2 separate regions of the Homo sapiens genome follow, and region 1 is linked to region 2. Evidence: promoter capture Hi-C in 16 types of primary human blood cells and fetal thymus (Javierre and others, 2016). All regions are on one chromosome and are shown on one strand. The core of a region is centred on a gene start or on the middle of the fragment in contact, and the rest is flanking DNA. Distances in the headings are between cores, read along the strand shown. Region 1 overlaps PPP4R1-AS1 (PPP4R1 antisense RNA 1). Region 2 holds the start of RAB12 (RAB12, member RAS oncogene family).

What was found. The method cuts DNA at HindIII sites, captures the fragments that hold promoters and counts their contacts. A CHiCAGO score of 5 or more calls a contact.
Region 1: a contact is called between a fragment that was not itself captured here and the fragment with the promoter of RAB12 in region 2, in 2 of 17 cell types (activated CD4 T cells and non-activated CD4 T cells). The highest score is 7.8, in activated CD4 T cells.

The regions. Positions count from the first base shown.
Region 1 is chr18:9,617,455-9,623,035 of GRCh38, forward strand. PPP4R1-AS1 (PPP4R1 antisense RNA 1) reads left to right here. Exons shown (of 3, transcript NR_110773.1): 3 at 1,741-1,909. It also overlaps the pseudogene RNU6-903P. Among named protein-coding and RNA genes, the nearest start is that of PPP4R1-AS1, 5.4 kb to the left of the region's middle. The HindIII fragment of the contact is 2,301 bases long and covers 2,120-4,420 here.
Region 2 is chr18:8,607,341-8,612,578 of GRCh38, forward strand. RAB12 (RAB12, member RAS oncogene family) reads left to right here and starts at 2,097. Exons shown (of 6, transcript NM_001025300.3): 1 at 2,097-2,613. The coding sequence starts at 2,100. RefSeq lists silencers at 1,925-2,154, 2,585-2,884 and an enhancer at 3,335-3,384. The HindIII fragment of the contact is 24,115 bases long and covers 1-5,238 here.

The sequences.
Region 1 (5,581 bases), core at 2,020-4,519, 1.0 Mb after region 2:
CCCACCTTAGCCCCCTGAGTAGTTGGGACTACAGGTGGGCGCCACCACACCCAGCTAATTTTGGTATTTTTTCGTAGAGACGGGGTTTTGCCATGTTGCCCAGGCTGATCTCAAACTCCTGGGCTCAGGTGATCTGCCCGCCTTGGCCTCCCAAAGTGCTGGGGTTATAGGCATGAGCCACTGTGCCTGGCCACAGTGACAATTTTTCTTAGCAGCCAATGAGCCTTGGAAATTAATGTGTCTGGCTTTTCAACCACAAACAAACATAAAAAAAAAATGGCGAAAACATCGCTAATAAACAAAACCCACCTGATGTTGCTTGCCACTATCATGTTTGTTAATTTTTGTATCGGTGATTGAACCATTCACTTTTTTCTTCAGAATTATCATTCCTGAAACTGAAAGTATATAAGGACAGCCCTATTATTTATTGTTTTAAATGATGAAAAGAGAAACAGTCTGAAAAATGGAGAAATACTTACATGATTAAAAATGATTTTTAAACAAATATTTATTTGCTTTTTTAAAATGAAATTTGCGTGTCATCTTTGCACAGGGGCCATGCTAATCTTCTCTGTATCAGTCTAATTTTAGTGCATGTGCTGCTGAAACGAGCACGTTAAACAAATTTTTACCATTCATTTCATTCATCTTTTTTGAAGCCAGATTGACAAAATGTCCCTCATAAACTCATTTTCAAATAAGAAGAACAATTTTTAGGCCATGTGTGGTGGCTCACGCCTGTAATCCCAGCACTTTGGGTGGCTGAGGTGGGCAGATCACCTGGCGTTGGGAGTTCGAGACCAGCCTGGCTAACATGACGAAACCCTGTCTCTACTAAAAATACAAAAAATTAGCTGGGCATGGTGGCACATGCCTGTAATCCCAGCTACTAGGGAGGCTGAGGCAGGAGAATCACTTGAACCGGGGAGGCAGAGGTTGCAGTGAGCCAAGATCATGCCACTGCACTCCAGTCCGGGACACAGAGTGAGAGTCTGTCTCAAAAAAAAAAAGGAACAATTTAAAAAAACTAATTGCCAGTCTCTTACCTAAAGCCTCCTATACATTTCTATACATTGTATAAAGGTAAGGACAGACGCAGTGGCTCACGCCTGTAATCCCACCACTTTGGGAGGCTGAGGCAGGCAGATCACAAGGTCAGGGGATCGAGACTATCCTGGCTAACAGTGAAACCCAGTCTCTACTAAAAATACAAAAAAATTAGCCAGGCATGGTGGCGGGCACCTGTAGTCCCAGCTACTCGGGAGGCTGAGCCAGGAGAATGGCGTGAACCCAGGAGGCAGAGCTTGCAGTGAGCCAAGATCGCGCCACTGCACTCCAGCCTGGGTGACAGAGCGAGACTGTCTCAAAAAAAAAAAAAAATTGTATATTTGTGAAATTTTACTTGTCCTCCTCTCTATGCTTCTTCTATCTCCCTTTAAAGCTCCCTGTCAAGGTGACATTCTGAATGTGAAGCCTTAGCCTTTCCTAGAGCTTTCATAGTTTTTCAAAGATACTTGATCTCTTTACTCACATCAGCTAAAGAGACATTTTCTCACACTGTGCTTAAGAAAGAAGAGAGAAAGAAAGAAGGGGAGGGAGGGAGGGAAGGAGGGAGGGAAAGAAAGGAAAAGAAAAGAAAAGAGAAGAAAAGAAAAGAAAAAAGAGAAGAAAAATACCTACAGAACTGAGCTCTATACAGAGTTACCCTGATTCAGGCTGTTCTTTCTACATTTACAGGAGCTGAACACTGCCCCGAGAATGCAACAGAACTTCAGCTCTGTCCCAAGGTCGTCAGCCACAGCTCCAAGTTTCTTAGCATCAGCTTTTTCTGAACAAAATAGTGCATCCTGCTGGAATCACTACTGTAAACTGAGTATAAAGGAAAATAAACCCTCTTTTTCTTATCCACTATGTTCCCTACTCCCGTGCTTTTCCCAGTGCTCCAGGTTAGTAGAGGCAAAAGAATTCCCCACTGATGAGGTACTACATCCTACACAATTTGTTCCACACATTTTAATTTCATTAAGAGAAAACAAAGATGTTTAAACAGTGAGCACTAAATGGATTAGAGTGGCAGTAGTAAATTTCCTTTGTGCCTTTCTCTTAGAATTTAGAAAGCTTTAGTTGCAATCCCATTCAAAGCAATATGGGAGAGGCTTCCACAATGCCTGGCACAGAGTACGTGTGGAGGAAATGCTTATCATTTTAGATGCTTATTATTTTAAATGTTTAAATGTTTATTATTCTGAATCTGAATGGATGAGTCAAGTTGAACCAGGAAATAAACCATAGCAAACCACATATTCAAACCCAGATAAGTTCAGTGGTTAACTGCCCTGACTCTAAGCTCCCTTCACACTAAGGCTGCTCTATGGTAATATGATTCAGAAGAAATTACTTCCATTCTCATTTCACTTCTCTGTAACTGTTTGTAACAAATTGCTTGTGTCTCTGGTCCTTGGTTCCTTCCTTTGGTGGGAAAAATATTAGCACAATGACACAATATAATTCCCAGACTAGATAGCTAATACATTTTCTAACTTTTTATTTAGAAACAATTACAGATTTACATGAAGTTTCAAATGATGTGCCAGGATGTCCTATGTCACTTTCACATCAGTTCCCCCAATGGTAATATTACCGTATATATGAAACATTTTTCAGAGCGTGTGCCAGGCATCATGTTAAGCGCTTTTTCTTTTTTTTTCTTTTTTTCTTTTTTTTTTTTTTTTCTGAGATGGAATCTCGCTCCATCACCCAGGCTGGAGTGCAGTTGCACAATCTCAGCTTGCTGCAATCTCAGCTTGCTGCAACCTCCGCCTCCCGGGTACAAGCGATTCTCCTGTCTCAGCCTCCTGAGTAGCTGGGACTACAGGCGCCCACCACCATACTCAGCTAATTTTTGTATATATATATATATATTTTTTTTTTTTTTTTGTACAGACGGGGTTTCACCATGTTGGCCAGGCTGGTCTCAAACTCCTGACCTCAAGTGATCCACCTGCCTCGGCCCCCCAAAGTGGTGGGATTACAGGTGTGAGCCACCGCGTCCAGCCTGTTAAGCACTTTTATGTGCTTTCTGATTATTTAAAACAGCCCTGTGAAGTAGAAATTGATATTACCATTTTAAAAATAAAGGAAATCGAAGCTCAGAAAGGTTGGGTATTTTGACAAAGATCAAAAAGCAAATGACCTGGCACAGTGGCTCACACCTGTAATCCCAGCACTTTGGGAGGCCGAGGTGGGTGGATCATTTGAGGCCAGGGGTTCGAGACCAGCCTGGCCAACATGGTGAAACCCTGTCTCTACTAAAAATACAAAAGTTAGCTGGGTGTGGTGGCACATGCCTGTAATCCCAGCTACTCGGGAGGCTGAGGCATTAGAATCTCTTGAACCCAGGAGGTGGAGTTTGCAGTGAGCCGAGATCACACCACTGCACTCTGGCCTGGGTGACAGAGTGAGACTGTCTCAAAAAAAAAAAAAAAAAAGAAAAGAAAGAAAGCAAGCAAGCAAGCAAATAGGGGAATTAGTATTCAAACACTGGAATCCTGATTCTAAATAATGGCAATAGCGTTTGCGTATCCTCACATTCATAGCTTTTCTGTCAAAATGGTCCTTCGTCAACTTCTTTCGCATTAAGAGAACTTCTAGTCTTTCAACATGTATGGTCTTGGTATAATCTCTAATTCCATCTAAGTTATCACTGTTCCCTGAGGATTTTGTCATTGAAACATTTTAGGAGTCACCTCTTCACTCCGTTTCTCACTCAATATCCTGACCAAGATATTAACCACTTCAAAACCATACTAATAACTTTTTAACTAGCCTGTTTCAATTATTCTGGCCAAGTATACAAAAATTATCTTTCTCATATAATATTTTGTTCATCACAATTCTGTGAAATTCCCAAGCAAGTGCCTTAACAGTGTCCTCTCACCAGCTGCCCTTGGCTTGAATGGCTGCAGTTTGCCACCATTTCATTATTCGGACAAATCATCCAGGTAGACAATCTTGAACTCAGGTGCCAACTCACTTCTCCCTCAAACGATGTTCTTGGTTTTTTAGGAGGTTTTGTTGTTGCTGCTGCTTGTAGGTATGTGGCAGGTGTTGGGAGGGGTGGAATTCTACATATTTTTTTTTTTTTGAGATGCGGTCTCACTTTGTTGCCCAGGCTAGTCTTGAACTGCTGGGTTCAAGCAATCCTCCCACTTTGGCCTCCCAAAGAGCTGGGATTACAGGTGTGAACCACCATGGCCGGCCGGAATTCTACATCTTTGTAACATTTATTCTTTTCTGAATTTTCCAATTACAAAAATACATGTTTTTGGAGTGCCCAGAAAAGTATAAAGAAAAAACTAAAATCTCCAAAAATTTAGAGATAATACCCCCAAACAGTTTATGTTTACCTATTTTTTAAAGCTTTCAAAGTCCTATATTTAAAAAAGTTTAGCCTAGGCCGGGCGCGGTGGCTCACGCCTGTAATCCCAGCACTTTGGGAGGCTGAGGTGGGCGGATCACGAGGTCAGGAGATTGAAACCACCCTGGCTAACATGGTGAAACCCCGTCTCTACTAAAAATGCAAAAAATTAGCCGGGCGTGATGGCGGGCGCCTGTAGTCCCAGCTACTCGGGAGGCTGAGGCAGGAGAATGGCATTAATCTGGGAGGCGAAGCTTGCAGTGAGCCAAGATCGCGCCACTGCACTCCAGCCTGGGCGACAGTGGGAGACTCCGTCTTGGGGGGAAAAAAGAAAAAAAAGTTTAGCCGGGCGTGGTGGCTCATGCCTGTAATCCCAGCACTTTGGGAGGCTGAGGAGGGTGGATCACCTAAGGTCAGGAGCTTGAGACCATCCTGACCAACATGGTGAAACCCTGTCTCTACTAAATAATAATAAAAAATTAGCCAGGTGTGGTGGCACATGCCTGTAATCTCAGCTACTTGGGAGGCTGAGGCAGGAGAATCTCTTGAACCTGGGAGGCAGAGGTTGCAGTGAGCCGAGATTGTGCCATTGCACTCCAGCCTGGGCAAAAAGAGCAAAACTCCGTTTAAAACAACAACAACAACAAAAAAAAACAAAAAACCCCAAAACTTTAAATAGCTTTATTGAGATATAAATTATAGACTATAAAATTTACCCATTTAGCTGGGCGAGGTGGCCAATGCCTGTAATCCCAACACTTTGGGAGACCAAGGCAGGCGGATTGCTTGAGCCCAAGAGTTCAAGACCAGCCTAGGCAACATGGTGCGGCCCCATCTCTACAAAAAATGCAAAAATTAGCTGGGTGTGGTGATGCACGCCTGTAGTCCCAGCTGCTCAGGAGGCTGAGGTGGGAGGATGGATTGAACCCAGGAGGTGGAGGCTGTAGTGAGTTGTGCTCGTGCCACTGCACTCCAGCCTGGGTGGCAGAATAAGACCCTGCCTCAAAAAAATAATAATAATAAATAAAATAAAATGTACCTATTTAAAATGTACAATTCTTTAGTTTTTAGAATATTCAGTTATGTGACCATCACATCTAATTTGAGAACATTTTCATAACCCCAGAAAGAAACACGTATCATTAACAGTCACTCCTGATT
Region 2 (5,238 bases), core at 847-3,346:
GGACATATTCCCAGGGGATTAGGGGCACTATAATAATTGATTTAAAATAGTGAATATGCACTTACCTGTCCTCCAGAAACACTGCCCAACCTCTGTCATTTAGTTCATTAATTATTCTAGTGGCAGAAACTACAGATCTACCTTATGGGGAAGATATTTTATTTTGGGCAAGAAGGTCTTCAGCCCCACAAGCCATGCCACATGCATCTGCCTATTAAGACAGGCGGTGCTATTAATCAGAATGGACCAAATTAAAAATCTTGAGATTACCTTTGCAGATGCGTCTTGCTTTGTAAAATCACAGTATTCCTGAAAAGCCATGCATAAATCAGTTTCTTTAATCCCTTACATTTATATAGTGCCTTATGGTTGCAGCAGACTGCAGAGATTGTTAGTTGCTTTTTTCCTAACAATGCTAGAGGAAAGGAGGGGCCACTACTCTCATTCTCATAGAACAGAAGAGAAACCCACAGCTAAGAAATGTTCTGCGGCGGAGCACAGTGGCTCATGCCTGTAATCACAGCACTTTGGAAGGCTGAGGTGGGAGGATCACTTGAGGCCAGTTCAGGGTCTCACACTGTTGACTAGCCTGGTTAACAAACCAAAACCCCAACTGTACAAAAAATTTTTAAATTAGCCAGGCGTGGTGGCACGTGCCTGTGGTCTCAGCGGCTCAGGAGGCTAAGCAAGGAAAATCACTTGGGCCCAGGAGTTCCAGGCTGCCGTGAGCTGTGATCGCACCACTGCACTCCAGCCTGCGCAACAGAGCAAGGCTGTCTCAAAATCAAAACAAAACAAAATGAAAGAAAAAGAAAGAAAGAAGGAAAGAAAGAAAGTAAATTCCGTGATGGTAAGTGATGGATCTGTGTTTCAAATAATATAGAGGGATCATATTTTACATATTCTCAGAATTCATATTATAAAGATCCCTACAGTGACTGCACAGTTAAGAATGCTCTCATAGATGTAAACTTCCAATCTACACTGTGGGCAACGCTAGATTTTTACAAATCAGGTTTGCTGTGTAACATATGCGTGTACTGTGCATTACTAAACCTAGTTCTAAATACAGCACAGCTGAAATTTTGTGGGTAACGTGATCATTCGGCAAATGTTGCCAGCCCCTATCATATTCAGAACCCTGTGTTCTGAGATGCTCAAGTTCAAGCTGAGGAATTTGCTAAACAAATCTCTGGCAAGGAATCAGCAGTGATTTTCTGTATCCTTAAATCCTTCCAAACAGAAATGGCAAAACATACGACCCGAGTCCATAATTCCTAAAGTTTCAATCTTCTCGCACTGTTTGAGTTTTAACTCGCTTATTCCCCCAAAGGAGTATGCCATTTACTTAATTTAAAAATTAAACAGCATAAAAACTTCTGAACTCTGAGTGAGACAGCGATCAGAGTTAAAAATAACTGATTTCGCGCGTTTCCGTGCAAAATGGGAGACAGACGTGACGGAGAGAGACCGAGCAGTGCCACGGCCCGGTAGAGGGTGCGGGGGCTTGCACCCGCTGGTGTTTGTGAGAGAGCGCTGGTGTAGACGCGAACGCAGCGCAGGCGGCCCGGCGGCGCGGCCTCAGGTCGGGGCCTTTCCAGCGTTCCAGCTACACCGAGCGCGCGGGGGCGAAAACATGTGCATGGTGTTTGGGGACTGTGCGCATGGGAGTGTTTTCACTGTCAACCAGGGTTCTTTTTCTTATTTTGAACCCATTTTCATGATGCACCGGAATGCTGAAGTTCAAAATTGCCTACGGAGAATTTTAAGACTAAAACCACACTAAGTTTCTTGTGTTAACTATAAATGCGGGTCAGAGTGAAAGCCGAGTAGGGAGGAGTGAAAAGGGGGAAAAGGGAAGAGATAAGAGGAAGAAAAGATGAAAGAGCCGGCGGAAGAGGGAGGGAAGCGGGGGCGGGCAGGCGAGCAGAGGCAGGGAAAGAGCGGCGCGGGTTGCGGGAAAGCTCCGCGCGCAGTACCCAACCGAGGCCCGGGCGCGCGGTCCTCCCGCCGGCAGGGGGCGCCCACCCGCCCGCCTCCGGCCCCTCGCGGCCAGCCGCCCCGCCCGCGCCTGCGCTTCCTGCCCCTCCTCGTCCGGGATGCTGCTGCCGCTACTGCGGAGTAGCTGCTTCCCTTCCTCCTCTCCCGGCGGCGGCGGCGGCAGCGGCGGAGGAGGAGGAGGAGGGGACCCGGGCGCAGAGAGCCGGCCGGCGGCGCAGTTGCAGCGCGGAGCCCACGGGCCGCCGGGGCCGCTCCAGCGGGCGGAAGCCGAGCCCGGGGCCGACCCCCCGCGCGCGGCGGAGGCCGAGGGGGCGCCGGGGCCCGGGGCGCGCAGCCGGGGGGCGGGCGGCGGCGGGCGGCGGGCCGAGCGGGAGCCGCATGCGTGTATGGATCCGGGCGCCGCGCTGCAGAGGCGGGCCGGGGGCGGCGGCGGTCTGGGCGCGGGCTCCCCGGCGCTGTCGGGCGGCCAGGGCCGCCGGAGGAAGCAGCCCCCCAGGCCGGCCGACTTCAAGTTGCAGGTCATCATTATCGGCTCCCGCGGCGTGGGCAAGACCAGCCTGATGGAGCGCTTCACCGACGACACCTTCTGCGAGGCCTGCAAGTCCACCGTGGGTAAGGGCGCCACGGCGACCCTGGGCCGGGCCTCCTGGCGCCCGGGCAGGTGCCCTTCGCCCCGTGGGCTTCGAGTCTCATCGAGCCTGGGAGTCTTTCGGGGATGGGCCTCTCGGTGAAACTAGGGGCGGGGGTCTCCTTGGAGCGCCCTGCATCCCAATCCCAAAGCCTGGCAGAGGTTTTCGTGCCGCCTCCGGGCAGACCTGCCCTTGGCCCCCGGCCCTGCCTCAGAGGTCCTGGCAGCCCCCGGGGCCTGTGGGGGCGGCTCTCCACGGAAACTTCGGCCCTTAGCATACTCGCCCAAGAAAAAGCTGGGTTCGAGTGGAGCGCAGGCAGGCAGGGGAGTGAACGCCTAAGGCCGCTCTCGCCCGGCCCGCCAAGGCCAGCGCGCGCCGTCTGCTGCGGGTGTGATCCCTGCGCAACCAGGGCAGTTTTCTTATTTTGAACCCATTTTCAAGAAATGAAGTTTAAAGTCACCTATGGAGAATGTTAAAACTAAAACTACAGTAAGTTTCTCGTGCTAGCCGTACGTACGGGGCAGAGGAGCTTCAGCTGTATTTATCCATGACCTCAAACAACCCGGTGACTGGCGGGCATGGGGTTGATTCCTCCAGTACCGCTGTTTTCGGTGAGGGACAGGAGTGAAGTAAGTACAGGAACGCTCCAGGGTCAAGGAGGAAAACAGCCGTGGATCTGAAATGGAAACTGCAGGGGAAATTTTTTTAATTAAGTCATGCTTAGAGGACTTGACATTGAGATTTCTCAGTTGGATGTGGGTAGCAGTTGTTTCTATGGAAAACCCCTTAAAAGATGTCCAAACTAGGAGAACCCCGTTCTTTAAAATAAAGGGCAGTCACTTCCGTGATAGGAAGTGAGAGATTTCCCCAGGGGCGGTCCAAGAAACTGAGTAGTCAGGAGATTTGATAGAATTAAAAGCATAATTTCATGTAATTCTATTTATTAATAGTGTTATAACCAGTGGTAGTTCCAAGGCTGTCAGTACGATTTTGAGATGACTTGATTTGAAATTGTCATGTAACAAAACAGTACTACATTTAAAGTGTCTTATTGGAAAGTGAAACCTCCAATTTTTGTACTGTCTTTCTTGGTTTGTTTTCAAGAACTTACTTCCCTTAATGCTTTTTTGGAATAGATCATTTTGGAAATATTTGTGATGTCTGTACCATATGTTTTTAAAATGTTGTCGTTGGAGACATTATATTAAAATGAGTAGCATAACTATACCTGTTTCAAATATCCAGTCTTGGATCATGCAGAGTACAGGGAGTTGTTAAACCATCAAATGAGGGTTAGGCTGTTATTTTAGTACCTGACATAAATAAAGTAGGGTTAAATTCCGTTTAGAATTGTCAATATTTTATGGCTCCGTACTTCAGTATATAAAAATGAGAGATAATAGAGTTGCACTGTGTGATGAAGAGAAATCAGGTACCCATAGGTGGGTAACTGAGGGCTTGAGTGGATGGAGGGTGAGATGGATGAGCAAAGGTGTGCTTTAGAATGCAGAAGAGGAGAGAGGAAGAAGGATTTTCTAAGCCTGGCAGCAGTGGAGCAGCCCCCCACCTCTGGGGAGGGTTCCTTAGGGGACTTGGGAATGGATGCTGCGAGACCTTGACCGCCATGCTAAGGAGAATGGACCCGATCCTATGGGCACCTGGAACCAAAAGACTCCTTAGTAAGGCATTGGCACGAAAACAGTTTGGCAGAGTTGCATAGGATGTTTGGGAATAAGGAAGAGCTGCGGAGGATGCTTGGGAATAAGGAAGAAACCAGGAGGCAAGGAGACCAAGCAGTTTGTTTCTGTGTCCCTTAACAAACATGCACTTACCCGAGCACATACTCCCTACTCTGAGTGTGGTTGAATTTCTGTCTTGCTCATTTTTGTTTGCTTCACATGTAGCCTATAATACTTAGAGTACTGGAGTACTTTAGTACTCAGTGCGTGCTTCTAACTGTGGGATGTTCAGAGAATGATCATGGCCCCTGGCCTGCTGCAGAGCGGGAAGACACTGTGAGAACGCCAGCCAGCTCCACTTCAGTTTCTGCTTCAGAGTTGCTTTTCCCCTCCACTCATCAGATCGTTTGTTGAGCACCTACTGTGTGTTGGGTGTTATGCTACCCAGTGGGGATTCAGTGGTAAACAGGACATCGACTCTGTCCAGAAGTGGATCGGAGCTTCTGGGAGCTGCGTGACCGCTTGTCAGGGCAGTGACAGATGTGTATGGGTATTTGGGAGCACAGTGAAAGCGCCTCCAGTCGAGGCTAGTGATGAGGCCTGGTCAGAGAAGGCTTCCTCGTCATTGGAATGTTTGAAGATAAGTTTGTTCCTCTAGTTCCTTTAGAAAAATGCAAATTAAATATGGTACTGGGTGTGGTGTAGAATTGTGGTTGCCTTACCTGAACGCTTACCATTTGAGCAGTTAGCTCCCGGGGTTCTTCCCAGGCTGGTTTTTCTAGTTTCATCTTCATGTAGTGCAGTGAATTCCATATAGAGCAAGAGTCTCTTCCACAGTAGGAGTTTCTCCCTACCCTGTCAGGGCTGCTCGCGACAGCCGTCTGGGAAAGACCGTGAGCCTCACAGCATGGCCCAGGGAAGAGTCCCTG